2 separate regions of the Homo sapiens genome follow, and region 2 is linked to region 1. The links are contacts of gene promoters, found by promoter capture Hi-C in blood cells and fetal thymus (Javierre and others, 2016). All regions are on one chromosome and are shown on one strand. The core of a region is centred on a gene start or on the middle of the fragment in contact, and the rest is flanking DNA. Distances in the headings are between cores, read along the strand shown.

The links. The method cuts DNA at HindIII sites, captures the fragments that hold promoters and counts their contacts. A CHiCAGO score of 5 or more calls a contact.
Region 2: a fragment that was not itself captured here is called in contact with the fragment with the promoter of RPL29 in region 1 in 2 of 17 cell types (fetal thymus and naive B cells); the score reaches 5.5 in fetal thymus.

The regions. Positions count from the first base shown.
Region 1 is chr3:51,994,428-52,001,936 of GRCh38, reverse strand. It overlaps RPL29 (ribosomal protein L29), which reads left to right and starts at 6,042. Exons shown (of 4, transcript NM_000992.3): 1 at 6,042-6,080; 2 at 6,468-6,512; 3 at 6,831-6,895. The coding sequence starts at 6,476. RefSeq lists an enhancer at 5,938-6,097. The HindIII fragment of the contact is 1,082 bases long and covers 5,981-7,062 here.
Region 2 is chr3:52,534,397-52,541,905 of GRCh38, reverse strand. It overlaps UQCC5 (ubiquinol-cytochrome c reductase complex assembly factor 5), which reads right to left and starts at 5,301. Exons shown (of 2, transcript NM_001124767.2): 1 at 5,000-5,301; 2 at 16-1,482. The coding sequence starts at 5,150. The coding sequence ends at 1,421. It also overlaps a transcript of NT5DC2 not described here. RefSeq lists an enhancer at 4,449-4,982 and a silencer at 5,316-5,615. The HindIII fragment of the contact is 7,688 bases long and covers 1-6,658 here.

The sequences.
Region 1 (7,509 bases), core at 4,793-7,292:
TCTGCCTTGAACCCTCTCTGGGGGAAGACAACTCACCACCACCACCAGGAACTTGGAGCTGAGGGAGACCTGACCCAGCCTAGAGAACCTGTTCAAAATAGACAGGCACTGAATCTGGAGGTGGGGGTGGTGGGGCGTGCTGAGAAGCGCAGCTGTGAAAGGCCTGGGAGGCTGCAAGAGTGTCCCGCCGGAGGGGAGCGGGTGCCTGTCTACAGCCCACCTGCAGCACCAGACTTCATCCGCGGTCCCACTCTGCCCCCTTGCGGACGATAGGCTCACATCCCGGCTCACTCCTGGGCTAGGTGGGCCAGGTGCGCCCCCAGAGGGAGATCAGGCCTGGGGCTGAAAGGGGCGCGCGCGCGATGACCTGAGGAATGGGCCGCACCTTCCAGTTTCTGCTGGAAATGACTCTCTTTTGACAGATACTGAGCACCAGCCTGGCGTTGCATGCAGCCCATGGCCCTTTCCTTCTACCAGGAGCTTTGAATCCCAGGCTCCTGGTGGGGAGTGAACTTAACTCTATTTTCCAACCCTGCATTCCACTTTTTTTTTTTTTTTTTGAGACAGAGTTTCACTCTTGTTTCCCAGGCTGGAGGACAATGGCGCGATCTCAACTCACTGCAACCTCCGCCTCCTGGGTTCAAGCGATTCTCCTGCCTCAGCCTCCCAAGTAGCAGGGATTACAGGTGCCCACCCCCACACCCATCTTAATTTTTTGTATTCTTAGTGGAGATGGGGTTTCATCATGTTGGCCAGGCTGGTCTTGAACTCCTGACCTCAAGTGATCCACACAGCTCAGCCTCCCAAAGTGCTGGGATTATGGGCGTAAGCCACCATGGCTGGCCCCCTCCATCCCATTTTTAAACCCCCAACCCCAGGGCATTCAATCGCTGCTGGCAAAACCCTTGTATCAGGAAGCTCACTACTGCTGGGAGCAGCCCATATTTTGGAGGGAATTCTGATTGCAAAAATGCCCCTTGTCCACGAAGCTGGCATTTGCTGTCCTCAGTCACAGCTCTGTCTTCTAGGGACACACAGAATCAGGTAGCCCCTCCCTCAGAAAGTTCTAAGCAGATCCAAAGTCCCAAAGCCCACCCCACCTCCACACTTCTGTCTTGTGGGGGTAAAACAACCAGATAAAACACCCTGGTTCTGACAACCTTCACAGTCCCTCTTACCTGAAAACACTGGTAGTCCCTGTATCTCAGGAACCTCAGAGGCTGAAGGGACCCAGCCCCCGCGAGCACCGCCACTTTCCTCCACCTTGGCTTTCTCTTGTTGTTCCTTGGATCTTGTCCTTATTTTTAGCATCCACTTGCCACTGATTTTCTTTCCCCAAGCCCCGTCTCCCTCACCTGAGGCCTTGTGGGGAAGATGCATGGATGGGACTAACAATGATTGAGCACCTACTGTGTACTTAACATAGTGTTCTGTGCTTTACTCAAATTATCCAGTTTAGCCCCAAGAGGTTATTACTATTTTTATCCCCACGTTACGCTGGGAACTGAGGCTTGGCAAGCAAGGCTCTGGGTCCAGGAGAAGAGCTGACTCTTATCTCTGAGAAATCCCTCCAGGCCAGCTGGCTTCTCCACCCTGATTCTGTCATCTTCCTGGATTTGTGAAATGTGCACATTTAACTCCTCAAACATGTATCAGGTCCCCATATACTCCTGGGACTGTGACAGGAACTGCAAAAACAACCCCAGGGGTCTCCAACCCCATCACTTTGCTGAGGAGACACTATGGGATCCTACTCGGGCTTTGAATTGGGTAATGGGTCTGGACAAGGCCTGGTCAAGACAACACCCTTGCAGGCCACATGGGTTGGGCTGATCACATCCAGCCCCATCCAGCCCTATCTTGTCACCCAGGCTCACATCTTTCTCTGCCTTGTGCCCAAGGCATTTGAGAGAGACCTGGCTTATGCTCTGCTGAGTCCAGATAGTGGCTCTGCCCAAGTCTACTCCATGGAGGAGGCAAGTGGAGCCCGGCCTCCAGGCAGATTTGAGATGGAGCAAGAACCACTCACTCATGGAGGGTGAGAGTGTGTCAACCCTAGAGGAAAGGTTAAGTTCTTTGCCTTTTTGTATGTGTGTGCCAGAGACTCCATTGACATATGGTGATATTTATTGACCTCTTCTCAAAATAATGTTTCAAAATATGTAAAATAGATTAAGATTACAAAAGATTTTCATGAGCAGAGAAAGATGTCCACAAATTATGACTAAATGCATAAAATCAGGTTACAGAAGAGTTCATATAGTGTAAGTTTCCATTTATGAAAGAGAGGAGTGAAAAAGGGAGGGAGGAAGAAAAGAAAGAAAGGAGGGAGGGAGGGAGGGAGGAAGAAAGGAAGGAAGGGAGAAATAAAGAAAACTATCCCTAGAAAGAATACTATCTTTATAGACATGGATGACCCTACCATCCATCCCACTTTGAAAAGCATGACAGGGACTAGGCGTGGTTGGTCACGCCTGTAATCCCAGCATTTTGGGAGGCCAAGGTGGGTGGATCACTTGAGGTTAGGAGTTCAAGACCAGCCTGACCAACATGGTGAAAACTCATCTCTACTAAAAATACAAAAATTAGCTGGGTGTGATGGCAGGCGCCTGTAATCCCAGCTACTCAGGAGGCTGAGCCAGGAGAATCGCTTGAACTGGGGAGGCGGAGGTTGCAGTGAACTGAGATCGTGTCATTGCACTCCAGCCTGGGCAACAACAGCAAAACTCTGTCTCAAAAAAAAAGAAAAAGAAAAGAAAAGCATGACAGGTCAGTGGCTCCAGGTCATGGTCCCCTTTGGCTCCTGGACAGGTCCCCTCAGGTCACAGCCAAAGTTCCTCATTCTTGTCACTGACTCCCCCTTGCCTAACAGCTGGGATTTAACTCTGGGCCAATCCCTAACACAGCCCCAGTGGTACTGCATGACCATCGTCCATCTCTGAATCTGCCTCCCCCGTCAGACCGTGGCTTTCTGCTCACTGCTTTTTCTGCCTCTGTCGTAACAGTCTAGCTAAACCAAGTCACTACTCACTTTTTAGGAGCTGCGGGAGTCGCTACCCAGCTGGAAGGCCACATAGCAGGGCAGCCTGGTTCTTTTAAAGTCATCACAGGCTGGACATGGATTACAGGCTCACGCCTGTAATCCCAGCACTTTGGGAGGCCAAGGAGTGTGGATCACCTGAGGTCAGGAGTTCGAGACCAGCATTGCCAACATGGTAGAACCCCGTCTCTACTAAAAACACAAAAATTAGCTGGGCATGGTGGCAGGTGCCTGTAATCCCAGCTACTCGGGAGGCTGAGGCAATAGAATCGTTTGAACCCAGGAGGTGGAGGTTGCAGTGAGCCAACATCGCGCCATTGCACTCCAGCCTGGGCAATGAGAGCAAAACTCTGTCTCAAAATAAATAAATAAATAAATAAAATAAATAAAAGTAAATAAATAAAGTCATCACTGCCCCCGCTGTCAGCCTCTACCCTGCTGGCTTCTCTTTCTCAAGGATGTGGCAGTCAGACCTCCTCCTCCCTGTCCCAGTCTCCACAGCCACCTCTTCAACTTCCTGAGCTGAAGTCCTGACTTGCTGTCAGGCATCACACCACCCCCACCTCCTGTAGCCCCTGTCTTTGCCCACCAGGTTCTCTACCTGTGCTCAGCACCCCACAGGGACTTTATTCCTGCAGAGACACTCTCCTCTGGGCTCAGCTGTTTCTTTCTTGGCACCAGATCATCCATCAGTATATAAGCCTGCTTTTCATTCTCCCAACTCACACCTGTCAGAATTCTCTCCCCTTTCTCAGGAATGCTTTGGTAATGAGTCATCCACATGTCCTGCCTCCACAACCTCCTTTCCGCTTCACTCCCTAAACCTCTGCAGTATGCGTCTGTCACTCCACGAACCTGGCTTGTCAAGGAACGTTCACTGGGCATGTGTTTATTAAGCTCTTGCTCTATCTACATTATGCTGAGTTAGGCAGTGGGAAAATGAAGGTGATCAAACCAGTCCCAAACTCTGGGCTCCTATGATAATGGACACATACACAACTAAGTAAACAATGCAATTAGAGTCTGGGAAAGTTCTATAAAGAAAGCAAACCATGGCCGGGCACGGTGGCTTACGCCTGTAATCCCAGCACTTTGGGAGGCCGAGGCGGGCAGACCACCTGAGGTCAGGAGTTCAACACCAGCCTGGCCAACATGGTGAAAACCCGTCTCTACTAAAAATAATTCTTTAAAAATTAGCTGGGAGTGGTGGTGTGCGCCCGTAATCCCAGCTACTCAGGAGGCTGAGGCAGGAGAATCGCTTGAACCCGGGAGGCAGAGGTTGCAGTGAGCTGAGATCGCACCACTGCACTCCAGCCTGGGAGACAGAGTGAGACTGTCTAAAAAAAAGAAAAAAAAAAAAAGAATAGAAAAGAAAGGAAACCATGAGAGGACACAGAATCACTGGTGAGATGAGGCAGTGGTTCTCTATTTTAGATAATGGAGTCCAGGGAGGCCTCTATAGGAAAGAGCACACCATCCAAAAAGCAGGGAGAAGGGCAGTCCAGGTGGCTGGGATAGCAAGTGCAAAGGTCCTGAGGCAGAACACACATTTGTGGTTGGCAGGAAAGAAAGGCAATGCGTTTGGAGAGAAGTAAATGACAGAGGTTGTCAGGGTCAAGTGGGTAAAGAATTGATCTTCAATGCAAGGGGATGTCCTTGCAGATTTAAGGGACAGGATCTGATTTGTATCTTAAAACAAGTCCCCAAGCCCCACTGCCGTGTGGAAAATGAACTATAGGGGGAAGAGGTGGAGAAGGCAACAGAGTTGTTAGAGGCAACAATTTCTCAATTCTGATGTCCAACAGGCATCTCACATTTAATGCATCCAACAAAAATATCTGGCTCATCATTCCCCCTCAAAACAAAACAAACAAAGCCCCTGCTCCCCACTCAATCTTCCATCTCTGTAAACAGCCCACCATTCACCCAGTTGTCAAGCCAAAGACATAGGGGCTATCCTTGCCTCCTTTTTCTCCCTCATCTTCTGTGTCCCAAGTCCAGTACTCTTTCTTTGTCCACTCCTCTGCATTCCCACTGTCCTCCCTCAGGTCCAGGCAGCCCTCTCTCCTTCCTCCCCTCTGCTCCTTCTCCACGAAAGAGTCAGGCGTGCTTTTCTTTTTTTTTTTTGAGACAGAGTCTCGCCCTGTAGCCCAGGCTGGAGTGCAATGGTGCGATCTTGGCTCACTGCAACCTCCACCTCCCAGATTCAAGCAATTCTCCTGCCTCAGCCTCCAGAGTAGCTGGGATTACAGGCACGTGCCACCACGCCCCGTGAATTTTTTTTTTTTTTTTTTTTTTTTTTTTGGATTTTTAGTAGAGATGGGGTTTCACCATGTTGTCCAGGCTGGTCTGGAACTCCTGACCTCGTGATCCGCCCACCTCAGCCTCCCAAAGTGCTGGGATTACAGGGGTGCTTTTAAGAACACAGATCGGCCAGGTGCGGTGGCTCACGCCTGTAATCCCAGCACTTTGGGGGACAGAGGCGAGCGGATCGCGAGGTCAGGAGTTCGAGACCAGCCTGGCCAACATGGTGAAACCCCGTCTCTACTAAAAATGTAAAAATTAGCCGGGCGTGGTGGTGGGCGCCTGTAATCCCAGCTACTCGGGAGGCTGAGGCAAGAGAATCGCTTGAAACCGGAAGGCGGAGGTTGCAGTGGGCCGAGATTGTGCCACTGCCCTCCAGCCTCGGTGGAAGAGCGAAACTCCGTCTCAAAAAAAAAAAAAAAGAAAAAGAACACAGATCTTCTTGCCCAACAACATCCCTCAAGGACTCCTTTCTTTTTCAGTATCTTGAATAAGACTTAAGAGACAGGTCCTGGAGAAACAGAGAAGGGAGGAGGCAGCCTGAAGGGGGCGGAGGCAAGCTCGTAGCACCGCCTCCACGTCTGGCTTGCGTTCTTCCGGGCTTCGGAACTTTTCTTCGCGGAGCCTGGGGAAGCTTTTCCAGTAGTACTTTCCGGCGTTGTTGACCCTATTTCCCGTGCTGCACCGCAGCCCCTTTCTCTTCCGGTTCTAGGCGCTTCGGGAGCCGCGGCTTATGGTGAGTGTTGGCCGCGCGGCATCCGATGCCATCCGCGACTTACGGGTGGCGGCGGGGCGCGGGCTGCGGAGAGGACTGGTGACCGACCGTGTGTCTGTCGGGAGCAAAAGCTGCGGGGTGGGAATGGTGCTTCTAGGTCCTAGGAGGGGGATGGCAGGGAAAGCCACTTTATTGGGGAATGCAGCTTTCCGGGGGTAAGGAGTTGATTTCAGGGCATCATTACCTGGGTTTGGGAGGCCAGGACTGGCGTTTGGTCGTGCAGAGTAAGCCGAGACTCGTGGAGGCTGCACATTCTCTGCCTGCAGGCTCATTCTGACCAGAATGGGGGGGGCAGAGGTGGCCCAGCCTGGCGAGCCCTTAACCCTGATCTCCACTTTTGTCTTCCAGGTGCAGACATGGCCAAGTCCAAGAACCACACCACACACAACCAGTGTAAGTTTTTTGGGCCCTGCCTACATCCCAGACCCTGGCAAGGACTGGTTCAGGCAAACTGGGACAGAGATGAAGGGGCACGTTTCCATTGTGGGCCTGAGGCTGATTGATTTCACCCAGTAATAACTTTAGGGTTTATAGGTTTAGAGATCTACTTGAGATACAGAGTGTTTTGCATTTAGTAGTAAGGGTTTCCCATATCTCAAGTGTAGCTGCTGTAGGAAGTGTTGGTTCTCCCAGACTTGCCAGCTGTGATGTTGGGTGGTCTTATTAGAGGAAAGTTCTTTGTTGGCTTAATTCCCTTTTTTTCTCCCACAGCCCGAAAATGGCACAGAAATGGTATCAAGAAACCCCGATCACAAAGATACGAATCTCTTAAGGGGGTGAGTGCACTGAATCACATGGAAGTGTCTTTTCTTGGTTCCAGGTGCACAGTCAAGGCCTCTCATGTAGTTTTTCTCTAGCTTTGGCTTCTGCCTGAGCACAGCCTAACTGGCCCACCCAAAGCCTGCAATTCCTTTTTCTACCCTACCAGACCCATAATAAAGCTTTCCTTGGTCTCCACAGCCTGAAGTGTAACCCTCTGGTCAGGGTGTAACCTGCCTCCTGAGGGCAGTTTGGCTATCTCCCTTGCTTGGCAGTGGCACTTAGGGTAAGGAGTGGCCTTGTCTGAGTGCGTGCAGGGCACATTCCCACACTGACCAGCCTTATGACCTCCATCTGACCCAGTGCTGGAGTTGGGGTCAGCTTCTCTTCCTGTGTCAGGGGGTTCTAAGGATTAGCTGAGAAGGCTGGAGGGTCTAGGGGAGAGCTGAGCATGTCCCCAGTCTGTTCCTTCCCTTTACTTTTGCTCTCTGTTCCGTGGAGTGAATCACAAACTCTGAGCCTCAGTTTCCCCATATCCCACCTTGGCTATAAGTCTTTTGGACCAGACTTGGTATTTAATTGACACCTTCTTCTAAAGAGGGGAGGGGGTGTCCCTGAGGGGATGTCAGGA
Region 2 (7,509 bases), core at 1,565-4,064, 540 kb before region 1:
CAGCAGACACAAAAGTTAGCCAATGGTTTTATTAGTGTTTACTATTATTCTTTGTAAAAGGTATGACGTATTTTCTATATGTATCAAATACTAAACTCCTAAAACAAGGTGGGTTAGGGCAAACATGGAGTATGGCCATATAATTGAGAATCATACTATAGTTTTTATACAGCAGTCAAGTCACTAAAAATGGTTTATCAGGTTAGGTTTACCAGGAATCCTAGATGACACAACTGGGCATGAGAATACGATGAACCACCGTCCTCTCCCTGATGGCAGAGGTCATTACTGGCCTTTCACATTCAAGCCATCTCCCAGCTGTGACTCTGGGCTTGCTGCACTGTAGTGTAGGTAGTGCTTTAAGGAGATGGGAGTAGTTAGTTAATGGTTCTTTACTGAATTGGTTCTAAGATAAGTGGACTAAAATTAGAAGAAAAATCTAGAAAAAATTAGGAGACATGTTTGTGGCAGAGATCATTAACTTGAGGATACCCTATGGCCTTAAGCATCAGCTTTATTCTCATGCAATAGTTAGAAACTATTCTGAAACTTAGTCTTTAGTATGTAGATTTTTTTTTGCTTGAAACGATGTTAGATGTGGCTATGCAAGCATGGAAAGGTATCTGCTTTTTCTACCAGGCTGATCCAAACTTACACTGGGTCAGATTGCCAAATCACTCAATAGACTGAGCCTCTGATTTAGCTCAAGTCTGGGATGCTTTATACTGTGTAGGTTCACTTTCTCATGGAAGGAGCAACTGTTTCTAGCAGCTGAATCGAACAGCAACATCTTCATCCTAGAGTAGTGTGAAACCTGTTGCCCACAGTCCTCATGAAGATCCAGCCCTTGCAGTTTAGGGGAGCCAAGCAAGGGAGGAGCATATTTCTGTTCACAAGAACACTAGCATGAGAAATGCGTAGTCAATCAAGAATTTCCACCACCCTAGCAAAAAGTTTATAGTCTAGTAGCTGGCAGAAATACAACCTGCATAATTATCCTGGTTTAAATGATCTGGCAATAGAGAATGTGTCCATAATTTAATTTGAATTCTGCAAAAAAGTAAATAAGGTTATAATTAGTTGCCTAAAAACAAAGATTGCCGAAAACAATTCGGGCTTCACTGAAAAGCATCCTGATTGATCCTTGAATTGTTTAAGAAATATTTCATGGACTAGATTCATCGAGTGAGTGTTTTAGGAGGAAATAATTTTCCCACAAGTGCTGTCCAGCAGTGACTTGGGAAGTACTCAAGCAGAGACAGAACTATAAAAATTCTTTGCAAAAACAGTTATTGGAATATTGTGCAGCTGATAAAGGACAAGCTGTGTCAGAACAAGAGATCTGAAAAGTATATTTTAAAAGGCACTGAAACCAATAGTAAAAATTCATATTGACTTTATTGACTGCTGAAGTTCAGTCTCATTCATCTTCCAGCCTTCTCTGATACTGTCTTTCTGAGGCTTTTCTACGGTAGACATCATCTGTATCAAACAAAAAGTTGCTCAGATGTTTAAGAAACATATTTAAAATTAAAACAATCTGAATAATTTAACCAATAGTCTAGGTCTGTCACCTACTTCTGAATCTTGGCATTAATATTTAACTCAATGCCAAAATAAACTTAAAACAAAACTTGAGTTAGATGAGGACTATGATAATGGAGTTCTAGACTTAAATAGGGTAAAAGTCAGTGTCTTGAAAGATAGAATCATGTCTTAGCACATCTCTTAGTGTTTTAAGATGTCCCTCACTTCCTTCTCCCCCATAATTTCTATTCTGTGCTCTGAAGTCATCCTTCTTAACTAAAACCTGGCTCCTCAAAGGCACTTCTTGCCTCTTGGCTCTCTGATGCTCCCTCTCCCATATCCAGAAACCTTCAGGTGGGGAGAGGAGATCAGTTTCCTTGTTCCAGCTGCTGCTTTGCCAGACCTTTGACTCGCCACCTTCATGTAAAGAATCTTCTTTCCAGGCCGGGCACAGTGGCTCACGCCTGTAATCCCAGCACTTTGGGAGGCCGAGGCAGGCGGATCACAAGGTCAGGAGTTTGAGACCAGCCTGGCCAGTATGGTGAAACCCCGTCACTACTAAAAATACAAAAATTAACCGGGTGTGGTGGCAGGCACCTGTAGTCCCAGCTACTCAGGAGGCTTAGGCAGGAGAGTCGCTTGAACCCAGGAGGCAGAGGCTGCAGTGAGCCAAGATCGTGCCACCACACTCCAGCCTGGGTGACAGACCAAGACTCTGTCTCAAAAAAAAAAAAAAAAAATCTTCTTCCTTCATGGCTCATGCCATTTGTCTGCCACCATCTTTCTTTGGCACCTGCTCTCCATCATGCCCCTTCAGTCACCAAAAGTGCTGGCCTCTGGCTCAGGTTCCTTGACCCTGTCCTGTGCCTTCTCCCCAGATACCACCATTACCCATGGGGATGAAGCTCCAGTACCCTTCACCTTCAACATCTTCCAGTCACTTGCAGGGCTCCTCTGAAGGATTTCTGTTCATACCACAACCCCCGTTACCTTTCCAGCCCTCCTGTCCTTGGACCTCACGTTTCTTCCCCAGGTCCTTGGCCCCGTCTTACCCGCTCAGCCGCTTCTTGTTCTCTCTCCTGGCAAATCAGCTAAAATTCCTTCATACTCTTGTCAATATCTTAACTTCCTGACACACCCTCAAAACCCCAACCACAGATTAATCCAACTTCCTCCCTTCCCCATGCTTCACCCTGCTTGCTGTGTCCTGAGGGGCCAACTGATGCCTCTAACTGGGTCCACTGAGGTGTCTGACAATCCTGTTTCCTCAGCCATCATCCTGACTCTTTTTCACCCACCCCCAAATGGCCATTTCCTCTCTTCCTTCACAGAGGAAAGTCATCATAAGGAACTCTTCCAGCTAACTTCCAAGGGCTTACTCCTGTCACCCAGCTCTGGTCCCACCCTCTCAAGGGTCCAGTATCTCCAGCCTCTCTCCACCCTCTCCTTCTAGATCATTATTTGCATATCCTGCAGTCTCTCCTAGAGGAAGGGGGGTTACCTCCCCTTCACAGAGCCAGATGTATTTAACCTCCTGTCTTCTGTGATAACAAATCCTCCTGGTTTCCCTCCTTGCCTTTCTGGCCATTCTCAGTTACCCTTAAAATGTTGGGATTTGGGCCAGGCGCAGTGGCTCACGCCTGTAATCCCAGCACTTTGGGAGGCCAAGGTGGGCAGATCACCTGAGGTCAGGAGTTCTAGACCAGCCTGACCAACATGGAGACACCCCATGTCTACTAAAAATACAAAATTAGCCGGGCGTGGTGGTGCATGCCTGTAATCCCAGCTACTCCAGAGGCTGAGGCAGGAGAATCACTTGAACTTGGGAGGCAGAGGTTGCGGTGAGCCAAGATCGCACCACTGCACTCCAGCCTGGGCAACAAGAGCGAAACTCAGTCTCAAAAAATAAATAAATTAAATTAAAATGTTGGGATTTGACTTCCATCATAATTTGCTTCTGAATGGTTCACAAATCCCAATTTCTGGCCCAGATTTGCCTCCTGAGCTTCAGCTCTGTATAACCATATCTACCTCGTCACGTCCCAGATGGTGCCCAGGATGGCCCTGCCTGTGTTCGGCACCTTCAGGAAATGCACTACCCCCTGCCCCAGGTGTCCCACCAGAAGCCTCCACTCCTCATCTCCTGAGTCCACTTAATCACCATGCCCTGTCAGTACTACCTCTGGGCTGTCTTTTACTTCCATCCCTTCTTGGTATCCTTTCTGCCCCAACCTAGACCAGGCCACTGTCTCAACTCTGGACAGCCATACAGCGTAACTGTTCCTACCAATCTGTCCACAAGGAGCCATTCTCCACATGTTAAAGCCTCTCCCTAAAATGACTCAATCCTTGGGATCCATTCTTGGTTCTCCAGTCCCTTTGCCACCCTGCCCAGGCACCCTTCTAGCCATCCCCACTTTGTTGATCTGCTTCAATCCCTCAAACACACAGCATACTCTCACACAAGTGCTCCTACCACTGCCATGGAGATGCTTTCAATTCCACACACCTTCCCCTCATCTGACTGACACCTACTCAGTCTTCAGGTCCTACTTTACTTGGTAGCTGCTTCCGGAAGCCTTCCCTGCACCATCTAGTCCAGTTGAGGCGCCCACCCGAGAGTCCTATGTTCCTCCCACTTCCTTCTCACAGCACTGATCACTTTGTATGCTAATTGTCTTTATCATCTTCTTTCCCATTAGAGCTCTTCTGGGGTAAGGGACACCTCTGCCTTGTTCATTATAGCCCCTCAAGAATGCTCATTAAGTATCAATGAATGGATGAACAGAAGGACTAAGGATCTTTAGGAATCACTAATGTAACAATTCTTTAAAATGTGGGTTGGCAAGTCACAAGTGATAGCGTTTCAGGAGAGGGGCAAAGCAGAAAGGGCCGAGGGGTTGGGGAAGTCCTCCTGAAAGGAACTGGCCTGTCCAGAGTTAATGCTCAGTAATGCAGTGCCAGGCGTTACCACTATCTTTACAGTGCTGATCATCTGGACCCAGACCAAAGACCTGGTGCCAATGACTGTCCTGTAAAGGTAGTGGTAATTAGCAAAGCCAGGCAGATCAGCTCCCTCCAGAGTTTGGACAGAAGAATCCAAAGAGAAATGGCTAGTTAGCAGGAGTTTCCCTGACCCCTCATATCCACCCCCTTCTACGATTGTTGTGAGCAAGTCTGTTCCTTAAGCCCAAACGATGTCACCGGCAGGGGTGAAGGGCAGGCATGAGAGGGCTGGAAGAAGCACGTGATCTCGCCTGTAAGTGCAGGGAAGGTCACAAGGCTGGACGCCAATGTGCCCGGCCTACAGGAGAGCCAGGCCGCCCTGACTGCCAAGCGAATGGAACTGCACTCGCCCAGCGCTCTGAGTGGAATGCGCGGTCTGCAATCTGAGAATACTCCCCAGAAAAACGGATCCCTACCGCCTCGTGCCTTCCTGAAAGGAAACAGAGACTGCTACCCCCTCACTTACAGAAGGTCTCCTGGCCCACGCGCACTTTAATCATGATCCACTCCATCGTTCCTCCCAGGACAAAAAAGAAGGGCAGGAACCGGTAGATGCCAAATCGCTGCTTCCCGGGCACCCGCTGCAGAATCCGTCTCACCTGGGCCCTGGTGAACATGCTCGACCGAGGTCGTGGAGAGGGATATGACGGAACTAAGCACTGGATCGCCCGGACGCAGCCGAGACCGCCCCGCCCGTTCTCGCCGTGTACCGCGACCTGGGAGACTAGCGAGCGCCGTCCTCCGCCACTGTCTGGTAGGCGCACGAGTGCCGGAACTGGGCGCCGACCTTCTAAAGCGAGGCGGATCCGCCAATCAGACTGCAGCGGGGGCGTGCAGCTCCGCCAATCAGAGCACGGCAGGGCGCGCGTGCTCCCTGAAGCCGAGCAGGGCCTCGAAGGAGCTGGCGCAGGCGCCTCAGCTCTGGAGGTGGGACGGCCCAAAAGGGAAGGACAGCCCACGTGGCGCCGGCCCGGCCCCGCCCCCTGCCTCCCCAGTGCAGGTCTGAGCTCGCAGTTGGCAGCCGCGCCCCCTACTCTGCCACCGCCATTTTTATTCCTAATACCCAGATAGAAGTGATGACCCTCTCTGATGGACTATGTACAGCACCACATTCCAAAATGCAATTATGCAATGCCTTGCGTTTATTTCGGAGACGTGATTGGTGCCTAGACTTCTAAAGTAACAGAATTTGATATGGAGTGTTGAAAGCTGAACTTTATCAATTATCACAGCAAAAATCTAAGTAAGCGCCCCGTGAGAACCCTAAAATTAATAAAAGCTATCTTGTATGGGGCACTTACAGTTCCACAGGCACTTGTAGGCGCTTTATTCACAATAATCGCAGAAGAGCAGTATAAAGAGCATGCACTCTGTTACCAAACCACATCCCTGCTCTACAGGTGCTCCCTTAGCCCATCTGTGCCTCAATTCCCTAAGCCGTAAAACGGAGGCCTTGTTCTGACGCTGTGATAATTTAGTGCGGTAATAGGAATGATGCACTGAACACAACCCTGGAGCATAGTAACTGATTAATATTAGTTAGAATATTCATTATGATGATAATGATTGGCAGAGCCCTCGCTCTTCACATGTATTCCCAAACATGGTTTTTGTTTGTTTCTTGAGACAGGACCTCGCTCTGTCATCCAGGCTGAAGTGCAGTGGCGCAATCTCGGCTCACTGCAACCCCCTCCTCCCCGGCTCAAGCCATCCTCCCACCACTACAGGCGTGCACCACCACGCCCGGCTAATTTTTTAATTTTTTGTAGAGATGGGGGTCCCACTATATTGGCCAGGCTAGTCTCAAACTCCTGGGCTCAAGAGATCCTCCTGCCTTGGCCTCCCAAAGTGCTGTGATTACAGGCGTGAGCCACCGCGCCGAGTCTGAACGTGTATTGTTTATATGTAGTCTCTTAACTGACAGTTTAAGAGACTATGCCAGGTAGAAGCAGGGCTCTGACTTAAGAGACTTCACTTGTAATTGCGTCTTCTCATGCTGCTGTGCTTGCTGAAGATAACTGAAAGGGGCTGTCACCCCATTACCTAGGACTAAAGTAAAAACTGCAGGAACAGCTTTGAGAAAGGAGACAACTATTAGACAATCTAAGGAAGGTAAATGAAAGCTTAGAACCAATGAGACGATTTGGTGATATGGACACAAAATATACAAAAGCAGACTGGAGAGAGCAAGCAGGGCCCCAGAAAGGGTCATAGGGCCCGCAGTGAGCAGCCTGAGCTGCCGCCTGTACAACCGGCTTTGGAGGGCCAGCCCGGAAGCCTCTTTCTCCTCCGGGTAGACTCCGCCCAAGCATGCACACACACAGGCTTGATGCTCGCTCCCGTTTCTACAGGAGGTTTTGACGGCTGGATGCTGCAGGGCATCCCCTCGCCTGGAGGAGGTTCACTTGTGGCCAGGTTCCCAGCACACCCACTTGCTCACTGGGGCCCTGGGGACACCGCCACACTCGAGCCCATCCTACGGCCTCAATCCTTACCAGTCCCCAGGCCATGGACTGCCACACTGTAGGTCTTCAATCAAGGTTCAGTGGAGTTTCGAATGTACACACACCCTGAAAGACAGCGCGGCCACCTCAGAAAACAACGCGCGCCCAGCTGGCTCCCCTCCGACAGGGCCCACGGCTACTGGGTCGGCCTCCTCCGGACCCTGAGCACAGCCTGGTATGCGTGCGGGCTCGGAATACGGATCTGAGCAGAAGAAATGCGAGTGGAGAGCGGTTCTGCGCAGGAAAGAGGAATTTTGTTGGAAAGCCTGTCGACGTTGCTAGAAAAGACCACAGCATCTCACGAGGGGCGTGCGCCGGGAAACCGGGAGTTGACGGGTCAGTGCGGCCAGTTGCCGAGGTCCGAACCAAGCGGGCGCAGTGACCGTGGCCCACAACCCTGCAGCGCACGGCCCAGTCACCTGGTTAGCGGACGTCGGCTGCCCTGCAGGCCCCTCGGCCTCCCCCAGCGTGG